2 separate regions of the Homo sapiens genome follow, and region 2 is linked to region 1. Evidence: promoter capture Hi-C in human tissues and cell types (Jung and others, 2019). All regions are on one chromosome and are shown on one strand. Each heading gives the region's core, a stretch centred on a gene start or on the middle of the fragment in contact. The rest is flanking DNA. Distances are from core to core; before and after follow the strand shown. Region 1 holds the start of FAM91A1 (family with sequence similarity 91 member A1). Region 2 has its middle 17 kb from the start of TMEM65.

Evidence for each region. The method cuts DNA at HindIII sites, captures the fragments that hold promoters and counts their contacts. A contact is called where the count stands out against the background at its distance.
Region 2: a contact is called between a fragment that was not itself captured here and the fragment with the promoter of FAM91A1 in region 1, in 1 of the 25 tissues and cell types used here (hippocampus).

What each region holds. Positions count from the first base shown.
Region 1 is chr8:123,764,606-123,771,905 of GRCh38, forward strand. It overlaps FAM91A1 (family with sequence similarity 91 member A1), which reads left to right and starts at 3,834. Exons shown (of 24, transcript NM_144963.4): 1 at 3,834-4,169. The coding sequence starts at 4,098. LOC105375739 (a long non-coding RNA gene) reads left to right here. Exons shown (of 3, transcript XR_928607.4): 2 at 178-303; 3 at 1,540-1,641. RefSeq lists silencers at 4,020-4,169, 5,738-5,787. The HindIII fragment of the contact is 9,142 bases long and covers 1-6,167 here.
Region 2 is chr8:124,385,824-124,393,123 of GRCh38, forward strand. No RefSeq gene overlaps it. Among named protein-coding and RNA genes, the nearest start is that of TMEM65, 17 kb to the left of the region's middle. The HindIII fragment of the contact is 9,306 bases long and covers 1-7,300 here.

The DNA of each region.
Region 1 (7,300 bases), core at 2,584-5,083:
TGCAGGGGAGGAGGATGCAGAGGGTTGGAGATATGTTACGATTTTGAATAAGGTGGTCAGGGAAGGCTTAACTGAGAAGTAGCACTTGAGAGCTCAGGTATCACATAACTAGTTCATGCATTCAATACAATCAATGGTATTTATTGAGCACTTATTATATATGATGCATGATTCTAGGTCCTAGAGATAAACTGATGAACAAGAAAGCAAAGTCCTTCCTTCCATGCAGAGACAGACAACAAGCAAGGAGCCAAACAGGATAATGTTGGACAGTAATTCCTTACAATGAAGGACATGAACAAGGTAATGAGAGAGGTAATGAGGTTAGAGGGAGGTTGAGGGGAGAAGTGGCTAGGTTGGACAAGGTAGTTGGAGAAGGCCACTCTAAGTGACAGCAGGTGGACTCAAAGGAACCTGCTGTGCAAAGGTCTGGGGAAAGGCATTCAAGGTGGAGGGGATTAGAAGGGTAAAAACTGGGAGGTGGGAACAAGCAAGGCTAAGGTGTCTGGCATGGAGATAAAATGGTTCATGGAACAGAGCAAATCATATACGGTATGGAAACCCACGACTAAGGTCGGACTCAGGCAAAATTGTGAAACAGAAAAATGTTACAGTGACTCCCTTTCCTCTCTTTTTTCTGGACACCATTTCCTCCCCTACAGGTGCTTCTCTAGCCTCATTTCATCCCTAAGCTCTATCTCTTTCAAACTTGCTCTCAGAAAAGGATGTGACAGCTCATGTATACTTAAAAAATAATAAGGCTTAAAGGGAATTATTCCTCCTAAGGGCATTTAATCACAATGACTTTAATTATAACATTTGATGCATCAGCTATTTGGGTGTTGGAATATTTTATTGTTGGGGAGTATATTAATTTCCTATTGCTGATGTAACAAATTACTATAAATTTGGTGCCTTGAAATCACACACATTTATTATCTTACATTTCAGGAGATCAGAAGCTCAAAATGGCTCAGCAGGGCTGTGCTCCTTTTGGAGAATCCATTTCTTCCAGTTCCTAGAAGCTGTTCACATTCCTTGGCCTGTGGCCCTGTATCACTCTGATCTCTGCTTCTGTTGTCACATCACCTTCTCTAACTCTGACCCCCTGCCTCCCTCTAATAAGGACCTCGTGATTATCTTGAACCCACTTGGATAATTCAAGATTATCTCCTCATGTCACGATGCTTAACTGCATCTGCAAAGTCCCTTTTACCATATAAGGGGCAAATTCACAAGTTCTAGGCATTAGGATGTGAACATCTTTGGGGACTATTATTATTCCTACCACAGGGCATGACATTCTGGAGTCTATGAGTGGGGTCATTAGATGGCTCCCTATTTTCAGGTAGTTTCTGCTCATTATTTCTGTTGGAATTTTGGGAATGAAATAGTTCTGTAGTCTTTCTAAAGGGCCAATTGCCTAAGCTAGTTGGGCAGTTTTCCTCAATCTGATCTTGTAAAGCCAGATAAGACTGAATTTCATTGCACTTGTTTGTGCTTTTGAACACTTTTTTTTTTTTTTTTTTTAACCCACAGTGTTAATTCGAATGGCAGCTTCTGGGATGGGACTTAAACACTCTGCAGTTTCTGACCTCTGTGGAATTTGAAAAGCCAAAGGTCTAGTAAAGTAAAAATTAGCAGGAGCCTCAGTCAGGGACGTAAAGGAAGGACATTATTGCTAAACGAAAAGGTGAGGTGCTGTAATGAGTGTCACATGTGGAGTCAGTCTAGTGAGCGACTGTTTCCAGCTTTCTGATGCTTGGGGAAGCAGTACTGTTCCTGAACTTCCCAGCAGAGGGGGTCATAGAGCCCTGTGGGTTAATTTACCGTCTTTGAACTCCTATCCTCTCAAAGACTGGTCCTTGGTGGGAAATGAGGCAGATCAGTACTTTAATAAGATTGTGTATTAAGCCAGAGTCCATCACTGGTTCCTGCTCGTAAGGGCTTGTTATTTGAATTCTTCCCATCCACATAGCTCTATCTCATTCCCATTTCCTCCTTCATGTGTCTGCTTTTCTCAGCTACTTGCCGAGTGAGAATCTTTTCTAGTCACAGGGTCGCATTTTCAAAGGTCTGTTTGCCTTATTAATTTAATGGGTGTAGGTTCACCTCTACTTATCCCACGTTCACTTTTATAGTTTTTGATGTGTCCACTAAACTCAATATAGTGAGTTTATCAGGCATTCACCTGCTGAACTGCTATCATTAGCTAAAATAATAGTTTACAGGGATTTTTTTAAGCTAAATTGACTTTAATTTTCATTGTTACTTATATTGCATTAGATCTAAGTTAGACTTTGGAAGAATATGGGTTCTTCCACACTTAGAACTGTAAAGCATTATTTTAGAGGATGTTTATGTCGTTGACTTTGAATGAACATTGTCTAAATTGGAACAGGAGGTAGAAGAGTTCAGTGAGTGAGAGCCTGAGTTGGGGAACTGAAAGGATGGCTCTGGAGTGAGGATAGCCTTCGGCTCCAGTTTGGCTCTGTCAGTGCTACCTGTGTGATCTTGCGAGCAAGTCATGAAGCCCTGCCAAGCCTCAGTCTCCTCCTCTATCAAACTGGGATAGTAAGTGGTTACTGTTGTAGGAATATCAGGGTTGTGAGGAATAATCTATTGTCAAGTCAAGGCCTTAATACATGGCGGGCAGGTAATCAATATTTGTTGAATAAATGTCTCACGGTTAGAGTTCAGTTAACCTTAGCTATGCTGATGAGGATCTGTAAACATAAGGTTCAAAGCACTTATCTTTGGGTTATTATAGTTGGATAATAGGAGACCAAAACATCTAAGCAAGGGCAGTGTGTACTTGTCACCTTTATTTCATCAGACATAATGGGGTTTCTGCTAAGCATCAGACTTGCCAGCTGTTGAGGTGTGAGCTAGGTATCTTATAAAAAGTTCTAAGTATACATCTCCCAGTATATAATAAAACATTATTTAAAACCATTGTTAAAAACTGAAAAACAGTTGCAATAACACTGAACTTGTCTCTGGTTGCTGCCAGGAATAATGGTCACGGGTTTGCTAAGGCAGCGTAACAACTTCTGAAAGAAATTATTCCCAAAGACCTTATCACTCAATCTGAAATTAAGACATGCTGGATTTTTGCTTTTAAGTGACTCTGGAGGCATTTGTGTGGAGCAGAATAAAGCAGAAACCGACAGGCTGCATGACAAAGTTGGCAAGGGTATCTCTCTGTCAGCCCTGTAGGCTGCCTCGACCTGTCAGCACCACTGTTTAAAATTTCAGCTCCCTGAATCCCTGCATTGTAAGAATTTGGATCTTCTTGGGAAGTGGAGCCCAATGACGTGCAGCACACCGCGGAAGGGAAGAGGGCTTACCAGACCTTTGCTCTCCCACTGCCCATGCTTCTCGCTCAACCCGGTGCGAGACCTGACTTAGAGATTATTTCTTTCTCCAGGGCCCTGGACCCGTCCCCGCAACCCCCCGCCCCGTCTCACTGGCCCGGGTTCCGGGCTGGCCTGTGGAGAACCCCCGCGAGCGCACCGCACTCCAATGTAAAGCCAGCCACTGCCGGCCCGCTTCCCAGGTCGCTTTTCTCTGAAAACCGACCCCAGTGCCTCCGGCTTTACAATTTGAGTAAACTGGGTCATCAGCAACGGCAACGCAGACCCAAGCGACTATCGCCGTTCATTCAGAGACTGAAACGGGGAGACGAAGCGCGCGGGCGGGGAACGCTCACCCGGGCACCTCCCGGTACCTCGTCGTCGCCCCGCCCCGCAGCCTGTAGAGGGCGTGGCTAGAGGCCAGTCCGTGCCCCGCCCCTCCGGCCGCGCGCCAGCGGGCGGAAGTGACGTGTGCCCAGAGCCATTTCCGGCGGCCCGAAACTAGGAAGAAACTTGGAGCTGTTCAGGCGATCCAGCCTCCAATCGCTGCTGCTCTTGTACTCGGTTGGCCCGGGCGGCGCTGAACTGTCGGGAGCCTAGGCCATGGGGCAGCCTGGGCCTTCTGCAGTGTGAGGCGCGGGGCCTCCCGCGTCGCTCCGCTGACAGGCTGCGGGCGGGCAGGCGGGAGGCGTAGTGTGGGTCGCGGTGGCGGCCCCGGCCGCCGGCCCTGGCCGCGGCATCATGAACATAGACGTGGAGTTCCACATCCGGCACAACTACCCCTGGAACAAGTTGCCGGCCAACGTGAGACAGGTACGGCCGGAACCTGGGACCGGGCCCCTGACGGATTCGGCCCGCCCAGCGGTCACCTGCTTGCCTCGCTCGCGGGGCCCGAGCGGGCTGCTGCCGGCTGACTCCCTTCCTTTACTCCTCCGTGGTCTTGGGGAGACGGACCTTCAGCCCAGGGCGAGGAGGGGACGGCTGTGGGGCCACAGGGCCAGGACGGGGCGATCGCTAAATGGGATGGCATGGTGTCCACAGGACTCGACTGGCGCCTTTGCCCGCAGGATACATTCAGCCAGGCACCTGCGATAGAGATTTTAAACACGGTCCTTGACCTCCGGAATTTCAGGATGGTGGGAAAGGGATGGGAAACAAATGAATACGATACAGGATGATAGCAGCTCATACACACCTGCATTGTAGTATATGTGAGAGCAGAGGGAGGGAGAAATTATCCTGGGAGAGTTGGAAGGATTTTTAAGGCAGGCACTTAAATTGGGCCTTGGAGGACGAATAAGAGTTAAATAAGAGGGAATAAAGATTTTTCCAGGGGGAGGGAAAGTCATTTTACAAAGCTTGGATGAGTGAAAGAACATGTCTCATGAGTAGCAAGTGACTGTATCACCAGAGTTTGGACTGACATGTTTGGAGTTGAAGTTTTTTGAGTGCGCGGGGCTGGTAGCAGATGAGCCTGGAAAAGTGGTCAGGGCCAGATTTTGAAGGTGCTTGTGTGCTTTGTTTTGTTGGACTTTATCCTCCAGACAAGATGGGTTTATCAGAGATGTTTCAACAAGAGTGACATGAGGTTTTTGAAAGTTAATTCTCGATTTTTTTAGTCTGTTTTACTCAATTGTTTAATAGATATTTATTGACCACCTACTAGGTGCTGTGCGTTGCTCTAGGTGCAGGTAATTTGCAACAGTCAACAAGACAAAGACTGCCTTCATGGAGCTTACATTTTACTAAAGAAAGACGTAAACAAATAAATGAATAAATACGTAACATAGCAGATGGTTTTAAGTCTTACGAAAGTAGTGATATGGGCTACAGATAACGCACTGCTGCTCTGGTCATAGATTGACCTTCGCTTCCTCCCATTATACTTGGTCGAGAGTGAAATTCAGTTTTCTGTTGGCACTCGGCAGTGGCATTTTTGGGAAGTTTGGAATGGTGGCGGTGATGGTATATAAGGATTATTTATTTATTTTTATTTTTATTTTCATTTCTTTGAGACAGAGTCTCCTGTTGCCCAGGCTGGAGTGCAGTGGTGTGATCTCCGCTCACTGCAAACTCTGCTTCTTGGGTTCAAGCGATTCTCCTGCCTCAGCCTCCCGAGTAGCTGGTACTACAGGTGCGCGCCACCACGCCCAGCTAATTTTTGTATTTTTAGTAGAGACGGGGTTTCATCATGTTGGCCAGGCTGGTCTCGATATCTTGACCTCATGATCCGCCCGTCTCGGCCTTCCAAAGTGCTGGGATTACAGGCGTGAGCCACAGTGCCCAGCCAGTATGAGGATTGTTATAGTTTAGTTTACTTTGCTCCCTTCCTCCCTTGGGGATTTAGTGCCAGGAAGTGAATATTAAGGTTCTGGTCATGCATCATGTGGCCAAGAAAATGCTTTCACTTTAATATAGCAAAAACCGAGAAAGATAAATTTAAAGAACTTGAATTCTTGGGTGTCAGTGGCTGCCCGTGTGGCATTTATCTTAAACTGGGAGAACAAAGCTCTAAACCTGAAGGAATAAATTTCTTTTGTTAATCTTGAATAAAGGCTTTAAAGGACACTTTTGTACTTTAGGGTTTTGTGGCAAATCCAAAGACACAAGAAGAACAAACAGTTCTTCTTTTCTTTGTTTCCATTTTTTCTCTACTCTTTTCATCAGAATAAATGTAGCATACTGGAAGAAAGATGAGTGATGAGATTATATCCAACATGAATATTTGACTTTAATTAGTATTGGCAAAAGAGTTTCTAAAACGTAGTCATGACTATTTAAAAATAATCATGGGACAGTTAAAATTAGGTCTAAATGTGAAATTAAGTATGTTTTTGTTTTTAAAATCACTTGAAAAACAGTGGCTATTTTAGCTTAGGATAAGGTTGGCCATTTGTAGATGTTGCAAAACATCTGTACAAGTTTACTTCCAAGGACCTTCTCTAGCCTAATCACTGCTTCCCTAGGCCGAGCTCCATCTGAGATTACTACATCAGCCTTCTCTCTGGTCTCTTGCTCTTAGAATAGGACTTTCTCTGCATTCTTCATGCTACTCTGGGGGTGAGGCTTCTGAAATGCAAACCCAACCTTATTACTGCTGGTCTCCTTTATATTGCTTGTATTAATAGCATATTTTGATTCTCACTCTGATACTGCTCCTGGGAGGTTTCCCTGACCACCTAAATCTGTGGTGGTTGCCCCTAGGCTATCTTACCATTGCATTGTATTCCTCACCTGTCATAGAGCTTACCCCGCTATGGTGCATTTTGTGGTTACAATACTGGCTTTGCTTTTGTCCCATGAGCACCTCTCACATACTTGGCTTTTAGTATTTGTGGCTGAGCACCTAAAGCTCAGTCAGTTTAAACTTGGGGAATATTCCTTCTATGGAAAGAATTTGTCTTTTGGCATTATAGATTTTTAGACACTTCGATGTCGTTTCCAGTAAGTTTTGATGGGTTTACCTTGAAAATGACTCATTTTCCAGTTCTGTAAGCTAGGGGCAGGTGATTTAGATTTTTAAAAAATGTATTTTAAGCTAATTCATTTTTATGTGGATGAGAGGACATTTAAAAAAATGTGGTATGGGTCATGATAGACTTTTAAAAAATATATAAAAAATTGTGGATGGGGCCATTATTTCAGGATTTTTCTGTAGTTTACCACTATCTTGTATTCTTTATCCAAAATAATTAATAGCCCTTTTATTTTGAGGGAAATCTTATGATAAGTTTCTGTATCATCCAAGAAGGGTCAATTTAAAAAATTTTTTGATGCGGCACAGGGGTGTACTTGGGGATGTATATGCTGGGATTGGAGTCTGTAGGAGCAAAGATTTCAGAAAATCTTTGTGTTTTTAGCATAATCTGTGATGGGTGCTTTATAGCTAGTGTCTTATTCTTACATCGCCATTTGATCTGATGTAGTTCCTTTTATATGCAGCC
Region 2 (7,300 bases), core at 1,929-4,428, 620 kb after region 1:
CCAGGAGATGGAGGTTTCAGTGAACCCAGATCGTGCCACTGCACTCCAGCCTGGGTGACAGAGCAAGTCTCTATCTCAAGGAAAAAAAAAAAAAAAAAAAAAAAAAAAAAAAAAATATATATATATATATATATATATATATATATATATATATATATATATATATATATATATATATATGAGAGTTTGGCTAGGTATGGTAGCTCTTCCTGTAATCCCATCACCTTGGAAGGTTGAATCAGGAGGATCGCTTGAGCCCAGGAGTTTGAGGACCAGCCTGAGCAACATAGGGAGACCCTGTCTCTTAAAAAAATAAAAAAAGCAATTAGCCAGGCCTGGTGGTGGGCACCTGTGGTCCCAGCTACTTGGGAGGCTGAGGTGGGAGGACCACTTGGGGCAGGGAGGTGGAGGCTACAGTAAGCCGTGATTGCTCTACTGCACTCTAGCCTGGGTGACAGAGCAAGACCCTCTCTCAAAGATGAAATTAAATAAATAAATAAGAATATGACAGTCAAAATAAAAAAATGTAGAAAAATGATTAAGATAACATTGAGAAAAAATTCTTTAAAGTAGATAATAGATAATGAAAGGAATAGAAAATGGAAAATAAACGACAAAATCAGAGAATTAGGTCAGGAAGTACAGGATAGTTAAGGAAGATATAACAGTTTTGAAAATGTAAGGGAGAAAATTGTCAAAGAAATATTTGAAGGAAAGTTCCCCAAAGTGGAGGTCATTTGTTCTTGTTGTGCAGTGTACAGGCCTATGTAAACCTAACCCTAAAGTCCGAAGAAGGTGAGAGGCCAAAGAAAGAGGCTGACAAACCCAGTTTCTTATGAAGAAATCATTTAATAGAGACTTACAAACAGAAGCGATGTCTGTGTCTCAGGCAACTGCAAGATGAGATGGTGGATCCCCATACCATTAACCCCAAGACCCAGGGCTTATGTACCCTAGGGGAGAGGTTGTTCAGAAGGGATGTTTAGAACAATTGTAGTATGATAACATCAAAATTGTTTGACCTAGGGGCAGGATTTATAATAAGTACCTGCTCTTACACAAGGAACAATAGATAAATTGGAAATCTTAGATGCTTTCTTGGAATAGGGGCTAATTAGAGGCCAACATGATGGATTAACTTCCAAGATGGAGTTCCTTTAGCCTCCACAGTTCCCAGATTGAGAAGGTCTGCTATGGGCTCAGAAAACTGGATGAAAAAAGAGAAAATCCACTCTAAGTCATGTCATCATGACATTTCAGATTACTAGGGACAAAGAGAAGATACTAAGTGTCTAGCAGCAAAGTCAATGGTGGAAGGCAGATAACTATCAAGGAAAGTTCAAGTAAAAAGGTTCCCCTTTTAGAATGGTTTCGGACATCTCAACAGCAATGCTAGAAGCCAGAACACAATGGAACTTATTTCCAATCTAGAATTCTATACCCAGCAATCTAGTGTGAGAGCTGATTACAACTTTTTCACATGTCAGAGACTCAAAATATTTATATCTCATGCTTCATATCAGGAAGAACCTGGAAGATGTGCTCCATCAAATTGAAGGAATAAACCAAGAGATTCAGGAAATGAGATCTAAGACAGTAGTGAGGAAAAAAGAATGGATGACAAAGGGAAATTATAGGGCGACAGGCCTAGGAAGCAACCGGGATATGTGGGACCAAGGCAAGGGGAAGTCTTGGGAGGTATGCCTCTAACAAAGAGATGGACTTAATCAGCTTATCTGATATATTTGAAAATATTGAATGGAGAGTTATACTCCGTGGGAGTTTGGAGATGAATTAGTAACAGGTTCCTAGAAAACTTGCCAAACAAAAACTGAGGCAATTTTTAACTCTACTAATAAAAATTCCATTAGAGAAGAAATACAATACATTAAAAGGTGACAGGTAAGCAGTATTTACAGTAGCATAATAACACAGAATGTTGATTTAACCTAAAATTATGATATATCTAAACTGAGCAGACTGGGGAGAGGAAGTATTAGCCTGCTCAGTCTGCTATAATAAAATACCATAGTCTTGGTGGCTTAAGCAACAGGAAGTTATTTACCTGAGTTCTGGAGGCTGTAATGTCCAAGATCAAGGTGCTGTCAAGGTAGGTTTTATTCTGACACCTCTTCTCTTAGCTTATAGACAGCCATCATCTCTCCATGTATTCAAATGGACTTTTTTTTGTGTGCATGTAAACAGGGGGAAGTGGTAAGGAGCAAGGAAGCTCTCTGTTATCTCTTCTTTTTGCTGTAGCAAATAACTTAATCTTTAATGGCATATTCCATGAACAACCCCAAAACTATATGGATTAAAATACAGCATTACTTTATATCACACTACAAAGCAAACACCATACCTTGTAAGTTAAATTGATAGTAAGATGGTTTCTAAATTAAGTGATAGGAAACTGTGAAAAAAATGTAATACAAGAATTTATCAAATATCCAAAGTCACTTTTCTTTTTTATATCTTCTGGAGTTCTTTTTCCAGTGAGCTTGTGGATTCTGTGAGTATAGATCATGATATACACTTCTATAAACACTATCGGGCCTATCTTTTTAAAACATTATATGTATTTATTTTTTCCTTTCAATAGCTTTTGGCACATGTGGTTGGTTATTAGTTACATGGATAAATGGTATAGTGGTGAAGTAAGGGCTTTTAGTTTACCTGCCACCTGCATGGTATACATCACACCCTATAGGTATTTTTTTATTCCTCACCCCCCTCCCATGCTCCCCACTTCTGAGTCTCCAATGTCCATTATGCCTCTCTGTATGTCTTTGTGTATCCGTAGCATAGCTCCCACTTATAAGTGAGAACATACAGTATTTGACTTTCCATTCTTGAATTACTTCACTTAAAATAATGGCCTCCAGCTCTATCCAATTTGCTGCAAAAGACATTAGTTCATTCTTTTACGTGGCATATATGTATATATGTATACCACATTTTCTTTATCCACTCATCATCACTTAATGGGTACTTAGGCTGATTCCATACCTTTGCAAATGTGAATTGTGCTTTGATAAACATATACATGCAAGTGTCTTTTGTATATGATGACTTCTTTTCCTTTGGGTAGATACCCAGTAGGGGGATTGTTGAATCAAATGGTAGGTCTACTTTTAGTTATTTAAGAAATCTCTGCCCAGGCATGGTGGCTCATGCCTGTAATCCCAGTACTTTGGGAGGCCAAGGCGGGCAGATCATGAGGTCAGGAGTTTGAGACCAGCTTGGCCAACATAGTGAAACCCCGTCTCTACTAAAAAACACAAAAAAATACAAAAATTAGCCAGGCATGGTGGTATGTGCCTGTAGTCCCAGCTACTTGGGAGGCTGAGGCAAGAGAATCGCTTGAACCTGGGAGGTGGAGGTTGCAGTGAGCCAAGATCACGCCACTGCACTCCAGCTTGGGCAACAGAGTGACACTTCGTCTCAAAAAAAAAAATAAAAAAGAAATCTCCATACTGTTTTCCACAGAGGTTGTACTGATTTACATTCCCATCAATAGAATACAACATTCCCTTTTCACCATATCTGTGCCAATATCTATAGTTTTTTCCCCTTTTAATAATGGCCATTCTGGCTGGGGTAGGATAGTATCTCATTGTGGTTTTAATTTTCATTTCCTTGATGATTAGTGATATTCAGCATTTTTCTTATACTTTTGTTGGCCATTTTTATATCTTCTTTTGAGAGATGTTTATTCATGTCATTTGCCTGCTTTCTGATGAGACTATTGGTTCTTTTCTTGCTGATTTGTTTGAGTTCCTTGTAGAGTCTGAATATTAGTCCTTTGTCAGAGGCACAGTTTGCAGATATTTTCTTCCGTTCTTTCGGTTATGTGTTTACCCTGATGATTATTTCCTTCATTGTTCAGAAACTTTTTAGTTTCACTAAGTCCCATTTATTTTTGTTTTGTTGCATTTGCTTTTGGGGTCTTAGTCATAAATTTTTTGCCTAGCCCCATGTCTAGAAGAGTTCTCTCTATGTTTTCTTCTAGAATTTTTATGGTTTCAGGTCTTAGATTTAAGTATTTTATCCATCCTGAGTTGATTTTTGTATATGGTGAGAGATAGGGATCCAGTTTTGTTCTTCTACGTGAGGCTATCCATTTTCCCAGCATCATTTATTGAATAGGATGTCCTTTCCTCAATGTATGTTTTTGTGTGCTTCTCAAAGACCAGTTGGTTGTAAGTATTTGTCTTTATTAATTGGTTCTCTATTCTGTTCCATTGGTCTATGTATCGACTTTTATACCAATACCATGCTGTTTTGGTTACTATAGCCTTTTGGTATAATTTGAAGTTGGGTAATGTGCTGCCTCCATATTTATTATTTTTGCTTAGGATTGTTTTGGTTATTCAAGTTCTTTATTGGTTTCATATGCATTTTAGGATGGTTTTTTCTAATTCTGAGAAAAATGATGAGTCTTTAGGGTTTTCTAGATATATGATCACATCATCCGCAGTAGTAGTTTGACGTCCTCTTTTCCAGTTTGTTTGCCCTTTATTTATTTCTCTTGCCTGATTGCTCTGGCTAGGACTTCCAGTACTGTGTTGAATAGAAGTGGTGAAGGTAGGCATCCTTGTCATGTTCCACTTCTCAGGAGGAATGCTTTGAACTTTTCTCCATTCAGTATAATGTTGCCTGTGAGTTTGTCATAGACGGCTTTTATTATTTTGATGTATGTTCCTTCTATGGTTAGTTTGTTAAGGGTTTTTGTTATAAAGCAATACTGGATTTTATCAAATGCTTTTTCTTCATCTATTGAGATGATCATGTGGTTTTTGTTTTAATTCTGTTTATGTGATGTATCACATCTGTTTACTTGCATAGGTTAAATTATCCTTGGATCCCCTAGTGAAACTCATTTGATCATGGTGTATCATCTTTTTGATGTGCTGTTGGATGCAGTTTGCTAGTATTTTGTTGAGCATTTTTGCATCTGTTTGTATCAGGGATATTGGTCTTTAGTTTTCTTTTTTTGTTATGTCCTGTCCTGGATTTGGTATTATGGTGACATTGGCTTCATTAGTGAGTTAGGAAAGATTCCTTCTTTATCAATCTTTTGGAATAGTTTCAGCAGAGTTAGTACCAGTTCTTCTTTGAATGTCTGGTAGAATTCAGCTGTGAATTCATTTGGCCTGGGCTTTTTTGTTGTTTTTGGCAATTTTTTTATTACTGATCAATCATATTGCTTGTTATTGTTCTGTTTAATGTTCCTATTTATTCCTGATTCAATCTAGGAGGGTTTTATGTTTCCAGGAATGTATCTATTTTCTCTAGAATTTCTAGTTTGTGTGCATAGAGGTGTTCATAGTAGTCTCAAATTATCTTTTATATATCTGTGGTGTTGGTGGTAATGTCTCCAATTTTATTTCTGATTTAGCTTACTTAAATCCTTTCTTCTTGTTTAATCTAGCTAATGGTCTATTGATTTCATTCATCTTTTCAAATAATCAACTTTTTGTTTCATTGATCTTTTGTATTTTTCTTTCAATTTCATTTAGTTTTACTTTGATCTTTGTTATTTATTTTCTTCTGCTAGCTTTGGGTTTGGTTTTTTCTTGTTTCTCTAGTTCCTTGAAGTATGAATTTGTGATCTTTCAGACTTTTTTATGTAGGCATTTGGCACTATAGACTTTCCTCTTAGCACTGCTTTTGCTATATCTCAAAGGTTTTGTTAACTTGTGTCACTATTATCGTTCATTTCAAAGATTTCCATCTTGATTCCATTGTTAACCCAAAAGTCATTCAGGATTAGATTGCTTAATTTCCATATATTTGTAAAGTTTTGAGGGTTCCTTTTGGAGTTCATTTTTAGTTTTATTCCACTGTGGTTTGAGAAGATACTTGATATGATTTCAATTTTTTAAATTTATTGAGACTTGTTGTGTGGTCTATTATATGATCTATCTTGGAGAATGTTCCTTGTGCTGATGAGAAGAATGTATATTCTTCAGCTCTTGGGTAGACTGTCATAAATATACGTTAGGTTCATTTGTTCAAAAGTGTAGTTTAAGTCCAATGTTTCTTTGTTGACTTTCTTCCTTGATGATCTGTCTAGTGCTGTCAGTGGAGTGTTGAAGTCTCCCACTATTGTCATGTTGCTGTCTATCTCTTTCTTATGTCCAGTAGTAATTATTTTATGAATCTGGGAGCTCCAGAGTTAGGTGCATATATATTTAGGATTGTAATTTCTTCTTGTTGCATTGATCCTGTTATCATTATACGATGGCTTTCTTTGTCTTTTCTTATTGTTGTTGCTTTAAAGTCTTTTTTTTTTTTTTTTTTTTGAGACAAGCTCTTGCTTTGTCACCCAGGCTGGAGTACAATGGTACAATCTCAGCTCACTGCAACCTCCACCTCCCATGTTCAAGCAATTCTCCTGTCTCAGCCTCCTAAGTAGCTGGGACTACATGTGGATGCCACTGCACCCCGCTGAATTTTTGTATTTTTAGTAGAGATGGGGTCTCACCATGTTGTCCAGGCTAAGTCTATTTTACCTGATATAAGAATAGCTTCTCTTGCTTGCTTTTGTTTCCATTTGTGTGGAATATCTTTTTCCATCCCTTTACCTTGAGTTTATAAGAATCCTTCTGTGTTGACTGAGTTTCTTGAAGACAGCAGATATTTGGTTTGTGATTTTCTATCTATTCTGCCAATCTGTACCTTTTAAGTGTAGCGTTTAGACCACTTATGTTCAATGCTAATATTGAGATGCGAGGTACTGTTCCAGTCATCATGCTGATTGTTACCTAGACATTTTGTTTTCTTCATTGTGTTATTTCTTATAAGCCCTGTGAGTTGCATGCTTTCAAGAGGTTCTACATTTTGTTTCAAGATTTAGAATTCTATTTAGCATTTCTTTTAGGATGGTCTGGTAGTGACAAATTCACTCAGCATATGTTTGTCTAAAAAAGACTTTATTTCTCTTTAATTTATGAAACTTGGTTTTGCTGGACATAAAATTCTTGGATGATAGTTATTCTGTTTAAGAAGGTTAAAGATAGGACCCCAGTCCCTTCTGGCCTGTAAGGTTTCTCCTGAGAAGTCTGCTGTTAGTCTGATAGGTTTTCCTTTATAGGTTATCTGACACTTTTATCTCACTGCCCTTAGAACTCTTTCCTTCACATTGACTTTAGATAGCCTAATGACTGTATGCCTTGGTGATATCCTTTTTGCAGTGAATCTCCTAGGAATTATCTAAGCTTCTTGTATTTGGATATCTAAATCTGCAGCAAGGCCAGATAAATTTTCCTCAATTCTTCCCTCAAATAAGTTTTCC